Linked DNA regions of Homo sapiens: region 2 is linked to region 1. Evidence: promoter capture Hi-C in 16 types of primary human blood cells and fetal thymus (Javierre and others, 2016). All regions are on one chromosome and are shown on one strand. Each heading gives the region's core, a stretch centred on a gene start or on the middle of the fragment in contact. The rest is flanking DNA. Distances are from core to core; before and after follow the strand shown. Region 1 holds the start of FAM98A (family with sequence similarity 98 member A). Region 2 holds the start of YPEL5 (yippee like 5).

The links. Contacts are between HindIII fragments. The CHiCAGO score rates a contact against its expected background, and 5 or more counts as called.
Region 2: a contact is called between the fragment with the promoter of YPEL5 here and the fragment with the promoter of FAM98A in region 1, in 1 of 17 cell types (naive CD4 T cells). The highest score is 5.2, in naive CD4 T cells.

The regions. Positions count from the first base shown.
Region 1 is chr2:33,596,491-33,602,775 of GRCh38, reverse strand. FAM98A (family with sequence similarity 98 member A) reads left to right here and starts at 3,477. Exons shown (of 8, transcript NM_015475.5): 1 at 3,477-3,607. The coding sequence starts at 3,555. LOC105374455 (a long non-coding RNA gene) reads right to left here and starts at 3,431. Exons shown (of 3, transcript XR_939942.3): 1 at 1,938-3,431. It also overlaps the pseudogene ATP6V0E1P3. RefSeq lists enhancers at 2,964-3,193, 3,334-3,383, 3,414-3,483, 4,034-4,223. The HindIII fragment of the contact is 3,614 bases long and covers 1,413-5,026 here.
Region 2 is chr2:30,143,879-30,150,163 of GRCh38, reverse strand. YPEL5 (yippee like 5) reads right to left here and starts at 3,157. Exons shown (of 3, transcript NM_016061.3): 1 at 3,102-3,157. RefSeq lists silencers at 2,044-2,483, 2,774-2,943, 2,974-3,553. The HindIII fragment of the contact is 10,963 bases long and covers 1,581-6,285 here.

The sequences.
Region 1 (6,285 bases), core at 2,228-4,727:
CTGTTTAAAAAGGAAGAAAGAAAAAAAAAAGAACACATAATTTGGTGTAATTCTGTTGGGAGAGCTCTTTCCTCTGAACGTCCTCTCCTACTGACTGCCCCACTGGAGTCTTGTCAGGCAGTAGTACGTTCTAAATAGTTCACTGATTCCCATGTTATGAGAAGGCAGGAGCCACTACAAATCCACAAATTCCAAGGACATAATAACACATTTCTCAGAAGAAAAGCATCTTCTCTCTCAAAAGAGTGCATTATCATTTTGAGGAGTTGGCACAGTTTAGGTTAAGTAGGCACATAATTCATTAAAGCATAAAAAAGTTGAAGAAAAAAATGCTGCATTGTGTTAGACATTCAAATGTGGTGTGAATGTTTAAGGCAGCTGATGCCCAAAATAAGCAAGTCAAGAAAAGTGGTGTGGTTTGGATTTTGCATCTAGAAGGAATTCTTTTCTCATGACTGCTAAGACTGAGCACTGTAAAGCCTGTCTTCCTCAAGGCCAATGACACTTCGGATACCAGATGATTTCATGTTTCAACTGCAGTCTGAAGAGAGGGTTGAGTTGGCCAGGATTGCAATCAGCCAAAAGAGACAGCAACAAACTGAACAGGTCACCTACATGGTAATGATAACTCCCTACTTAGGACCCTTAGGGATGAACCAAGGCATGAAGAAACCAGTGAAGCCCTAAAACACGCTCATTGCAATGAGACGTATGGTGAGGCCCTGATATGCCATGCTTACCGCTGGTCTGCCAGCCCCTGCCCCTCTGCCTCACTTGGGTCCCACCTGGAAGTCATTTTTAATTAATTTTTTTTTTTTTAACAGAGACAGAGTCTTGCTATGTTGCTCAAGCTGGCCTTGAACCCCTGGCTTCAAGTAATCGTCCTGCCTCAGCCTCCCAAAGTGCTGGGATTGCAGGTCTGAACTACCGCGCCAGACCCTAGAAGGGTTTTAAGTTGGTATTTTATATTCTTTTTTGAGAAAGAATCTAGAATCAAAGTCATCAGTAAAAGGGCATGTGCTGGCACTTGTGGGTGTGCCTTCTCACAAGAGTACCCTTAAGTAATTATTCAGCCTCTAGGTGAACACCTTCTAGACAGGAAGCTCATCATCTCTCAACGATACCTAAGTCACTTTAAGACTACTCTTAGAGTGTTAGAAAAATTCTTTCTTATACTGATCTGATGCAAAAACCAGAGCTTCCTCACTTCCAAATCATTGTTCCTTTCATTCTAGTAAACTCAGTTTCAAAGAGGTCTTCAGATATCAGGTTCCATTATAAACATAAATAATTTCTAAATAAAATGCAAAAGATTCCTCGTAGATCCCATTAAAATGATGACAATTTTTTTTCTTTCTTTCTGAGCCTGCCTGGTAGGGAACACAATTTTGTTTAAGTAGTATTTAAAAGCTTTTTTTAATTGCAGAGAAAGCCATTGTAGAATTCCTTTAAACCATAATATATAAAAATTTCATATCAGCAATCCTTCATTTAAGCTAACGATGTGAATTAGAAAGAGAATACTATTCCTGCAAAAGCTGGATTTTTTTTAAAGAAAGAAAGGGAATACTAATACTTTTAGGGAAGTCATCACTCGTTCATTCACTAATATTGAACACAATATTATATTCAATATTAGTTCAATATTGAACACAGCTTACATCAAAAGTGAGTCAAGAATGAAACCCTTTTTCTTTCAAAATTGATTTTTGTATTAGGCATGACTTTTTGTTTAGCACCTTCAACAACCCTATGAGGAAAATAATTATTCAATTATTATAAGGTAATTATGTACAATATATACAAGTTTAAACAAATTCAACTAGCTAAATTTTCCTCTTTTCACATCCTGCGTATAAATCCTTATTTGACTAGTCAAAAAAGAAGGAATATGGATTTAGATATACCTCAATCTCAAAATCTAGTTTCATACTTACAGGCATTAAGATCGCTGAAGATTATTAAGCCACTCAGCCTTAGTGTCCTCATCTGTAGAATGTGACTAATATTCACACAGCCTTATGGTGACTGCATCATAATGGGCCATATCAAGTGCCCATGGTAAGTGCAGAAAACCTACCCCCACTTCAGATGATGCAAAATAAGGAAACTGAAAAAGGTACTACTGGCCGGGCGCGGTGGCTCACGCCTGTAATCCCAGCACTTTGGGAGGCCAAGGTGGGCGGACCACAAGGTCAGGAGATCGAGACCATCCTGGCTAACATGGTGAAACCCCGTCTCTACTAAAAATACAAAAAATTAGCTGGGTGTGGTGGTGAACGCCTGTGGTCCCAGCTACTTGGGAGGCTGAGGCAGAATAATGGCGTGAACCCGGGAGGCGGAGCTTGCAGTGAGCCGAGATCGCACCACTGCACTCCAGCCTGAGCGACAGAGCAAGACTCCGTCTCATAAAAAAAAAAAAAAAAAAAGAAAGAAAAGAAAAAGGTACTACTAAGGATAGGAACATCTATCCATCAGACACAAAAATGCTTGAGAACTATAGAATAAAATCAACAGGTATCAATATGAAAACTCTTTAATTAAATGCCTACACGATTTAACAGTACGCCAACTTATGGTTAAATATAGTTTTCTAAATATGCCATCACTTTGAAAACATTTCTGATTTTTCAGTAATTTCTAAACACACCCTCAGTAACTGCCAAGATATCACAACACATCCACATCGTGAACTCAATGTTTCACCCGGGCAAATAATGTCAAAAGTAATGACAGTACAGCCAAAAAGTTTATTCACTGTCTAAACTACGTGGATTTAAAAATATTCTATTCTATTTGCTATGGAGTGAAGCTCCCCTTCTCCTTAAAATAACATGCTTAGTGTCTGGGAAGGGCTTTAGACATCAGGTAGAGAATGCATGAGGGAAAACGACCCAACTTTCTGAACATCCATAGTCTGCGGAAAGTTGGCTCATCCCTAACCCTGAAATAAAGCTACTGCAGCCACGAGGAAATCAAATGGCACGCTATCTGCCGTCTGCACTTGGCCCGCACCCGCGTCCTGAAGACGGGAGCGCAAGAATTCTCCCTTTCTACATGACCTGCAAGCTAAGGCTAGCACATGCCGGCACCCTACGAAGAGCCACCCGATCTCCTGTCTGGGATGCAGAGACTCGGTTTAACAGCCGACTCCACCCGCGTCCCGAGACTCTTCCAAGCTCCTTCCCGGCCCGCCGCGCCCCCTACATTCGCACATGCGTACACCCAATAACGAGAGCCGAGAGCGCTCCCCTTCGCGTGGTCCCCACGCCCAGCTGCCACGCAGCCGGTCCTCCTACCCTTCTCTGGGCGGCTAGCTTCACGATCCAGTAACGCGCATGTGCAAAACTGCGGGCCCTGTAATTCTTTAGTGGGCAGGGGTGGGGCGGTCAGTGGGACCAAGTTTCTTGCGCACGCTCCGGACATGCGCAGTGCGGGAGCTGAGGCGCCAGCTGTGGATTTGGAAGTTCCGGGGAAGTCGCGCATGCGCGAGTGTACGCGTTGCCGGCGAAGAGGGGAGCCTGACGACTCGGAAATTTGAATACCACAGTAGCATGGAGTGTGACCTCATGGAGACTGACATCTTGGAGTCGTTGGAAGATCTAGGGTAAGATTGTCAGGGCACGGGTCTCCCAAGCCCCACGCTGCCGGCCCCCTGGGAACACCTCCTGCGCCCCAGTCTGAGACACCTGCCTCTCCACGCCGCACCCCGTGGCTCCTGGCTGTCGCTTCCCTTTGGCCCCGGCACCCCCAATGCCACGTCCACTGTCTGCACTGCTAGCTCGGGGTCCTCCAATCCCAACACCCCTAGGCCTGCCCAGTGCTCCCTGCAGGCGAGCTACCCGCAGCGTTTGTCAGTCATGCGTGTCATTGTCTGGGCTCTGATTTTCGCCACCCCCACTCCCCGAGCTTCTCTCCTCGCTTCATCCTCCTGCCCTACCCCTTAACCCCTCAACTCTAAAGGTTGCCAAAGTTGATTCTGCTTTCCTACTTGTTCTCCAAATTTCCTACTCCCATCTTGAGCCCCTCCTCCTACCCCACCCCACTTCTCTCAAAATTTCTCCTTTGCCCAGTCATCTCTGCATGCACCCAGGCTTCGCTAAGCCACTTGTATGGGCGCTGCATCTGTTCCGCTGGCCAGCTCGCTTGTGCATCTAACCTATCACCACGTCCCTGGGAACCACCAGCAGTTTGCTTTGACTCTGTGATACTCTGCCTCGTTGAGCCCCATTAGACCAGGGTCGTCTTCACCCACGAAGAACCTGCGTATTTGTTTTGCATTGTGTCTCTCCTTCTCCTGATATTTATTCAACCATAATTCATCAGTATCTAGAAGCTGGAAATAGGGTTTGTTATCTCACTGGGTCACCCAGATCAGTGTACTCTATTAAACTTGAGAACGTGGACCCTCTTGGGCTAAATGTGGTTCCAGAAACAAATTGTATGGTTAGATACTTACCTACAGGTACGGTATCAAAACAAAGTACAGATTTAGCTAGCTGTATTTCTAAGTAACAAGTTCTTTATCAAAATTTTCTCTTAGGTTTTTCCATGACAAGGAAACCTTTGAGAGAAACCTTTCTTTAGGAAAAAACACCTTGAGGATTCCCAAAGTCTGCCTATTTGAATAATTTACTACCCTAGTAGAAATTTTTAGGAACGAAGTAGTCTTGCTTATCATCTGTCTTTGTCACAGTGAAATACTATTGTTCTTTTCTTGGAAACTTGCTCTGAATTTTTATAAATATTCCAGACTTTAGGGGGCTTCTTTCTTTCATTAGGGCATATGTTAAAGTCATTCAGCAAAATAGTCTCTTTAGTTGACATCTCAGACTGAATCGCTTGTTCACACATGAAACCATTCATTCATTAGGACTTTTTTAGGAACAGTTTCTTTGTGGCAGTGTTAGGCCCTTAGAGTACAAGGTGAGGTGGAAGAGGGGTTCACAGGATACTGGGAAAATATGCTGTGAGGAGCCCTGAGGAGGGTCCCTTTACTGGGAAAGGAAATGAAATCCTAGAAGCTTCTTTCTGGAATAAATGACACTATAGTACTGTAGTGGAATGAGTGGAATGAAAGGAAGGGGGTAGACCTTATTAAATGTAGTCTTTCTGCATGGATAGTGGTCACTTAAGAATTGGCCACGGATGCTGTTTCTTCCCATTATTGTCTTTTTTTTTCCCCCTCCTTTTTTTAACTTTTTATTCTTTTGGGTACTGTACAAGTAATTGTTACTGTAGTAATTGTAATCACATAACTACTTGACATAGAGTGTAATGTAAACCATGGATTTTCTGAAAACTGTTATAAATTTTAACCTTAACTACTTAGTTTGGTGGCATTCAAATATTAAAAGTCAGCCTTAATTAACTGAAATGTACTTTTAAAGGATTAACTGAGAAATATTAGAATTAAATGACTACCTTTTCTATTTATTTATTTATTAAGAGATGAGGTCTTGCTCTGGTGACCAGGCTGGTCTCGAACTCCTAGCCTCAAGCGATCCTCCCACTTCAGGCTCCGGAGTAGCTGGGACTACAGGTGTATGCCACTGATCCTGGCAAATAGTCATCTTTTATCTCTTACCTGGCACACAGTAGGAATTCAGTAACTACTTGTTGAATAAACTAATGAAGTCTAAATGTGAAACTCAAGGAGAAACTTCTAGGCCTAGTCTTTTGATTTCAGTGTCTAATAATACATAGTTTATAAATCTAGATGCCAGACTACATGTGATCTCATTTTTTTATGTATGATTTGTTTTCATTTTGTTGCATATACTGTATAAACCTATAATCATATTTTAAAGGGTTTGAGAACTGTCATTTCTCTAACATACCTGTAGTTCTCAACATTATATTATCTTTTTTTTTTTTTTTTTTTGATACGGAGTCTTGCTCTGTCGCCCAGGCTGGAGTGCAGTAGTGCGATCTCGGCTAACTGCAAGCTCTGCCTCCTGGATTCAAGCCATTCTCCTGCCTCAGCCTCCTGAGTAGCTGAGACTACAGGCGCCCTCCACCATGCCTGGTTAATTTTTTTGTATTTTTATTAGAGATGGGGTTTCATCGTGTTAGCCAGGATCGTCTTGGTCTCCTGACCTCGTGATCCACCTGCCTCGGCCTCCCAAAGTGCTGGGATTACAGGCGTGAGCCACCACGCCTGGCCTAAACATTATATTATCTTAAGCATATTTATTGTATCATCTTAAGTAAGCATTATTATCAATATTTAAGAGAATGTAAAGCAATCTGAATAATATGTATTTAAGATTACTTGGAGTGACA
Region 2 (6,285 bases), core at 1,908-4,407, 3.5 Mb after region 1:
ATGCTAAAGCTAAGCAACCAGGTGATAGAAATCAGAAGCTGGAGGAAAGTTAGAAACCTTCTGAAGCATGTCACAGTTCTGGGTCTTAAAATAGGTACTTGTTGTCCCTATAATTAATAATCCAGTTTGGTTTCAACCCTGGTAAGTGGAATTAGTCAAGGGAGGCACCACTTCCCAGCCCTAAAAATACCAGGGAGGGTAGGTATCTATTCGCATCTCATAGAACCTTCTGACGGAAAAACACCCAGTTCACAGATAAACTTTTCCTTAGTAAATGAAACCATCGCCTCAGGGCATTTCCATAGAATACACACTTCACCAGATCCCCAGTGTTGGACAGACCACAGTGGGTTTTCCATTGCATCAGAAGATGGGACAAAGGCAAGGTACAAAGACTGCTGCAGGGAACTGAGTATGCAGGCATCTAGCGCAGAAAGGGTTAAAGGAACCTGCCCCTTGCAGAGGTGGTTTTGTTTCGCAATGACTCTGCTAAAATGGAATCCCGTGGAAGCCAGCTTTCCTATCTCGTTTTTAATCTCTTCCCTCGCCAAAACAAAGGATAAAAACCCAAATAACTTTTAAGAGTGCTGGGTTGATTACTATAATAATCAGCACTTACTGCTATTGTAATTTCATCAACTCTTTATACTGAGTTGTGACTAAACGCTATTAAAAAATCTACATGGGAAAACAGTTTGATCCATACAATCAACTTTCCAATTTTTGTGCAAAATATATAACAAGCTAAGTTTTCAGTGACACAAGCAAGCTCTGCTTTCCTCTTGCAGTACGTGACCAGTTTACTTTGCTGTGTCAAATGATGTCCTGTTGTGGAATCAGGTCTTCATTTGCAGTACGTTTTAAGGATATATTTTTGTTCTCCCCCCTCAATAATGCCTTATTTTTTCCTGTTTTGTTAGATGACTTTCAAGTTCACTATATTTCAATAACACTTATATTTAAATATTAGAAAATAAGACTAGTCATTTCACTCAGGAAACCTTGTGTGTTAGTGCACAATCTGAGTTGGTCATCCCCCGCTAAACCCTAGCAAGACAATTTCATGGTCTCGTTTGTTGTGATGCAATACCAAAAGCCTCTAACTAGATGGATTGACGTGTAATTTACCTGTCTGGCTTCCCGACTCAAGTGTCAAGTAGCAACTTCAGGTCTAGCTAAGGTTCAGTTCCTGCATTACACTGACATTACTACACAGGATTATCTTAAAACTGACACTGATCTCTATAGTTATTCACCATTAAACCTAGAATGATATTTTAGGCACACATATACCTAGGACTACCTTCATGTCTCGTGGACTGTTTTTCAGAGGGTAGTAGCTGCTTTAATTACTTCTTTTCATAATTTTTGGCCTTATTTCCTTTCACTTTTTTCTAAACCTGTTTATTTTTCTCATTACTTAAATAGAAAACAGAAAAGGGAAATTAGTCTAGAGAAAAGTTCGCAATGATCCAACCAGGTAACATTATTTTCCAAGCTACATATATTTTACTAACGTCTCATAACTTGCTAAAATTATTGCTCGACTTTGTCCACGACTTTTGATTAAGTTATAAGCTTCTAGAGAAACTATTCTAAATTCTTTGTACTTTACTTCTTACCTAACCCAGTACAAGTATGCGATAAACTTTCAGGAAACGAATTCACCAAAGCACTTCACTTCTGGCATGAATATGTACCCTGGGAACACCACAGGCCTTTTGGTTCCTCTTTGGTGGAATGCAGCTGCGACGCTCTATATGTGGCTATGCAAAGTTAGCTAATATCCTACTCCTCCCAGTTTCTTCACCACCAAGTCTACTAATTTTCCAAAAACACAAGGTTAGCCCGAAGTTACTTCAGGTTTTCCATCTGTCAAGACGACGTAGAATAAAAATCCTCAGATTACCAACAGATCTCTGTAAACAGAAAAAGTTTAAAAATAAATGAGCTGTACAGCTTCCCAGACTCTCCCTTGAAAGGGAGATTAGTTGGTATCAGGATTAAACAGATCTTTGTAGTATTTCAATTTCCCACTCCCGCTGATCCGGACACTCATTTGTCCCATCTACCTGCAGAGAAGGTACAGGAAAGGGGTTGCAAGGGCACGCCCACCCTCCCGACTGCAAGCGGAGGGAAGGCCGCAGCCCGAAGCTGGCGGAGCTGGGCCGGCCCGGGCGACCCCCGGGTGGGCTCACCCGGCAGCCGCAGTGGGGCCCGCGAGCGCCCCCGCCGGCCCAGCTGATGGAGGCCACGTGACGCCAGCCGGCCAATCGGGAGGGACCGGGGCGGCAGAGCGCGGCGGCGGCGGTGGCGGCGGGGCCTCCCTCGGCACAACAAACACGAGCAGGAAACAGCTGAGCGGGTGGCCGGGGGGCTCTCTTGGTCCCGACACCCGGCGGGCTGCCCAACCGTCACCCTGCGCTGTCAGTCCCGGGTCCTCTGGGCAGGAGGGCGGGGGAGGCGGACGTTCATGGGGGGGAGGGGGCAAAGGGAGACACCGCCCCAGCCCGGTGGCTGGGCCGCTTGGGCCGGGCGTGGGCCCTGCTCAGGACGGTTCACGCCGTGCGGTCATCGCGGCCCAAACAACTCGGTCAAGTTCCGACTTGGATTCGGGGCGGAGACCGGGCGCGCCCCCGACTATGCGACGGGTGGGGGCGGGGCAGCCGCGGCGCGGCGCGGCGGGTTGGGGGTCGCGGCCAGACCGTCCGCCCAGGGGGCGCCGTGGGCCTCGGCGGCGGGCCTCGGAGGACGCGACGGGGAAACGGGGCGGAGGCGCGGGCGCCGCGCGGAGGGGTTGCGGCTGTTGTCGCACCGGTCGCCCGGCTGCGCGGCGGGGGCGGGCCGACGGCGGCCGCCGCGCCAGGCCTCACAAAGAGCAAACAGCCCCGCGCGTCCGCCCGCGGTCCCAGCGCCGGGGCCCACCCTGAAGGATCTGGGGCGGCCGCTCTGGGACCCCGGGAAGAGCGCGGCGAGGAAGAGGCACTTCCTGCCTGGGCCCCCCACCCTGGGCCGATTCCCGAGTGCCTCGAAGCCGCCCGACCCGAACGGGCGCCTCAGTCCCCACCGGCCCCGAGTCCAGCCCCTCCCGCGGGACTCACCCTGAGCGGCGGTGAGATCCGCGGCTGCCAGCGGCTTGTCGCTCTTCAGCTGGTATGAAGCCCCTCGGCCACCCGAGTCTCCAGGTTTAGTCAGGCCCTGGCCTTGGCCCCGCCTCTCCCTGGTTGGGCCTCAACGTCAGTCACCCGGCGTGGCTCCGCCCCCCCGCAGTCAGCTCTCCCGGTTGGCCCAGAACGCCCTTTATTTCTAGGCCCCGCCCCTGTCCTCGGCCTCCTGCCTTTTTCGCGGGGCCCCGCCCCTTCTCTGGCTCACCCTCCCCCACTCCCGCACCCCTCCGCTTCGCGGCCCACCCCTCTCAGAAGCCGCAGACCCAGGGCAGGCTTGCGACAGCTCGCCCCGCCCCTGACCCAGCACCTCGGACTCGTACAGCCAATCAAAGAGGCTAACTCTGCCCCTTCTCTCGAGGCGGCCAATGTAGTCAGTCTGGGGACCCACCTCCCCCTTTCAGCTGAGCGCACACAACACAGCATCCACGTGAGTCAGCTTCTTAAAGGCGAAGGCTTGGCCTGTCTAATTGCGGCAGCTGCGAGACATCGCACGTCATTAGCGTCACCAGGTAGCGGCTGGAGCCGAGCTTCCTGATACCTAGTGAGCCGCGGTGATGACAAATGAAAACAATAAGCTGTTTCCTAGACAAACAGCTGCCTAGGTAACTAAAGTGCACCGTGTAATTCGTTTCTTGGAGGCCGTTTCCCCGACCACCCCTGGTAGAGGGCTGCCTTTTGCTTTCAAACCCCTAGCCCTCGAGTCTAAGCGCATAGGCACTCCTAAGAAACATCTGTGGATACAGGATTTTTCAACTGCGCTTGACTTTATTTACAACTCATTTGAATGTTTTTTCTGGGTAGTGGAAATGATTCTCAAAAAGATGAAGAAATTCAGTCTTCTATATGGCGAATTTCTGCCTCAGAGAGTGAGATTTGTTCATTGCAAAGAGCAGCTGTTCCCTTAACCCTTATCAATGCTTAAGATGGAAGATGTTGCTTCTCATTCCATTAGAGTTGCCCAGGTACTTACATCTCTGTTAGCTGACTTTCGGGATAAAACCAAAATATTTGATGACGCATACCTCTCAGATTAAAAATGTAGGTTAGCATTTGGGGCTAGTTTGCAACATGTTTAAAGTCATTATTGGTGGAAGAGAAGCTGCTAAGCAAATTCTAGCACTTGACTCCCGCTCATCCCCAAATCCACAAGTATTTTCATTTAGTTCGTCTGAAGTTTACCTGAGCATCAAAGGCAAAAGGACTAGTTATCTTTTAATAAGTGAGTTTTCCAGGAGATAAGTTTTTTTGTTTGTTTGTTTCAGACGGAGTCTTGCTCTGTCGCCCAGGCTCGAGTGCAGTGGCATGATCTTGGCTCACTGCAACCTCCGCCTCCCGGGTTCAAGCAATTCTCCTGCCTCTGCCTCCTGAGTAGCTGGAATTACAGGCGCACACCACCACGCCCGGCTAATTTTTGTATTTTTAGTAGAGACGGGGTTTCACCATATTGGCCAGGTTGGTCTCGAACTCCTGACCTCGTGATCCGCCCGCCTCGGCCTCCTGAAGTGCTGGGATTACAGGCATGAGCCACTGTGCCTGGCCAGAAGTTTTAAACATACAGTATTTTAGTTTATTTTCCTTTCTATTTCTTTATTTTCAATTAACAATATTTAATATAAAAGTTACACGTTTATTGTAGGAAGATCATACTGCCTCATTTGATAAGAGACTTCTGTCTTCTAACAGCTTCATATGTATCCTATTCTTCCCAAATTGAATGTATTATACATAGAAGCATATTGTACTTCCTGTTTTTCAACCTGCTTTTTTTTTTCACTCAACAATGTGCTATAGCCATCCTTTCATGTCAGATGTGTCTTTTATCTACAAATTTACCTTTGTCTCCATAGTTTTCCGTAGTATGACTTCACCATCTTTTTTTTTTGAGGTGGAGTCTTGCTCTGTGCCCCAGGCTGGAGTGCAGTGTTGTGATCTTGGCTCACTGCAACCTCCACCTCCCAGGTTCAAGGAATTCTCCTGCCTCAGCCTCCCCAGTAGCTGGGACTACAGGTGCCCACCACCACGCCCGGCTAATTTTTGTATTTTTAGTAGAGATAGGGTTTCACCATATTGGCCAGGCTGGTCTCAAACTCCTGACCTCAGGTGATCTGCCCACCCTGGCCTCCCAAAGTGCTGGGATTACGGGTGTGAGCCAATGTGTCCAGCTTTCACCATCTTTTCTAAATGTTTCTAAACATTTTTCTACTGATAGACATTCAGATTGTCTTCAGTCTTTTGTATTAAAAATAATGCTGTAATCGACACCTGTGTACATGGATAAAACATTCAAGTATTTCTGAATATAATCATTTGAAAAGAGAGTACAATGCTTAAACCCACAGAAATGAACACTTTAAGTACCAGATAAAACAGTGGGGACAATGTTTATTTATATAACAATATATATAAAATTCTTCCTGTTGTAAGTGCCTTAAAATTATTAACTTTTAATTTTCATAACAACTCTGTGAGGTAAGTACTGTTATCCCCATTTAATAGATGACAAAACTGAGGTACAGTGATTAACTAACTTGTCCAAGGTCACCCAGTAGAGTTATCGACTACAGTATTTGTGAACTTGAAAAATAACAATAAAAATCATATTTTAGAAAGATTAATCTAGATGATGATGATGTGCAGAAGTAAGGAAGGCAGGCAGGAATGGAGCTAAGGTTTGCAGTTTTAACTTTAACAGGAAGGGCTACACAGGACTGACTTTCTACCTGGGTTAAGGACAGAATTTTTAAAGTCAGAGGTTTTATCCTGGGTGACTGATAGTGTGATGGTTTCCCATTGCCAGATATAGTGTGGTTGAGAAGGTTGATTTGGGGTGAAAGAGGCTGAGTCTGAGCTGATGGTGGGACACTCAGAAATAAAGTGTACAATTAAAGGTGATATGAGAAATATGGAAGAGAAATGAAAAAGAAAGGGTGAGAAGTTTGAAGAAAATCTTGCTGGGCTTTTGGTTAGAATTGTGTTATACCAGTAAGGTAATTGGAATAAGTTGATACTTTATTGAAACTTTATAATACTAAGACTTTCCCACCAAGAACATGGTACATTTTTTTCCATTTATCCAAATGTTCATTTATGTCTTTCAGTAAAATTTTATGGTGTAGCT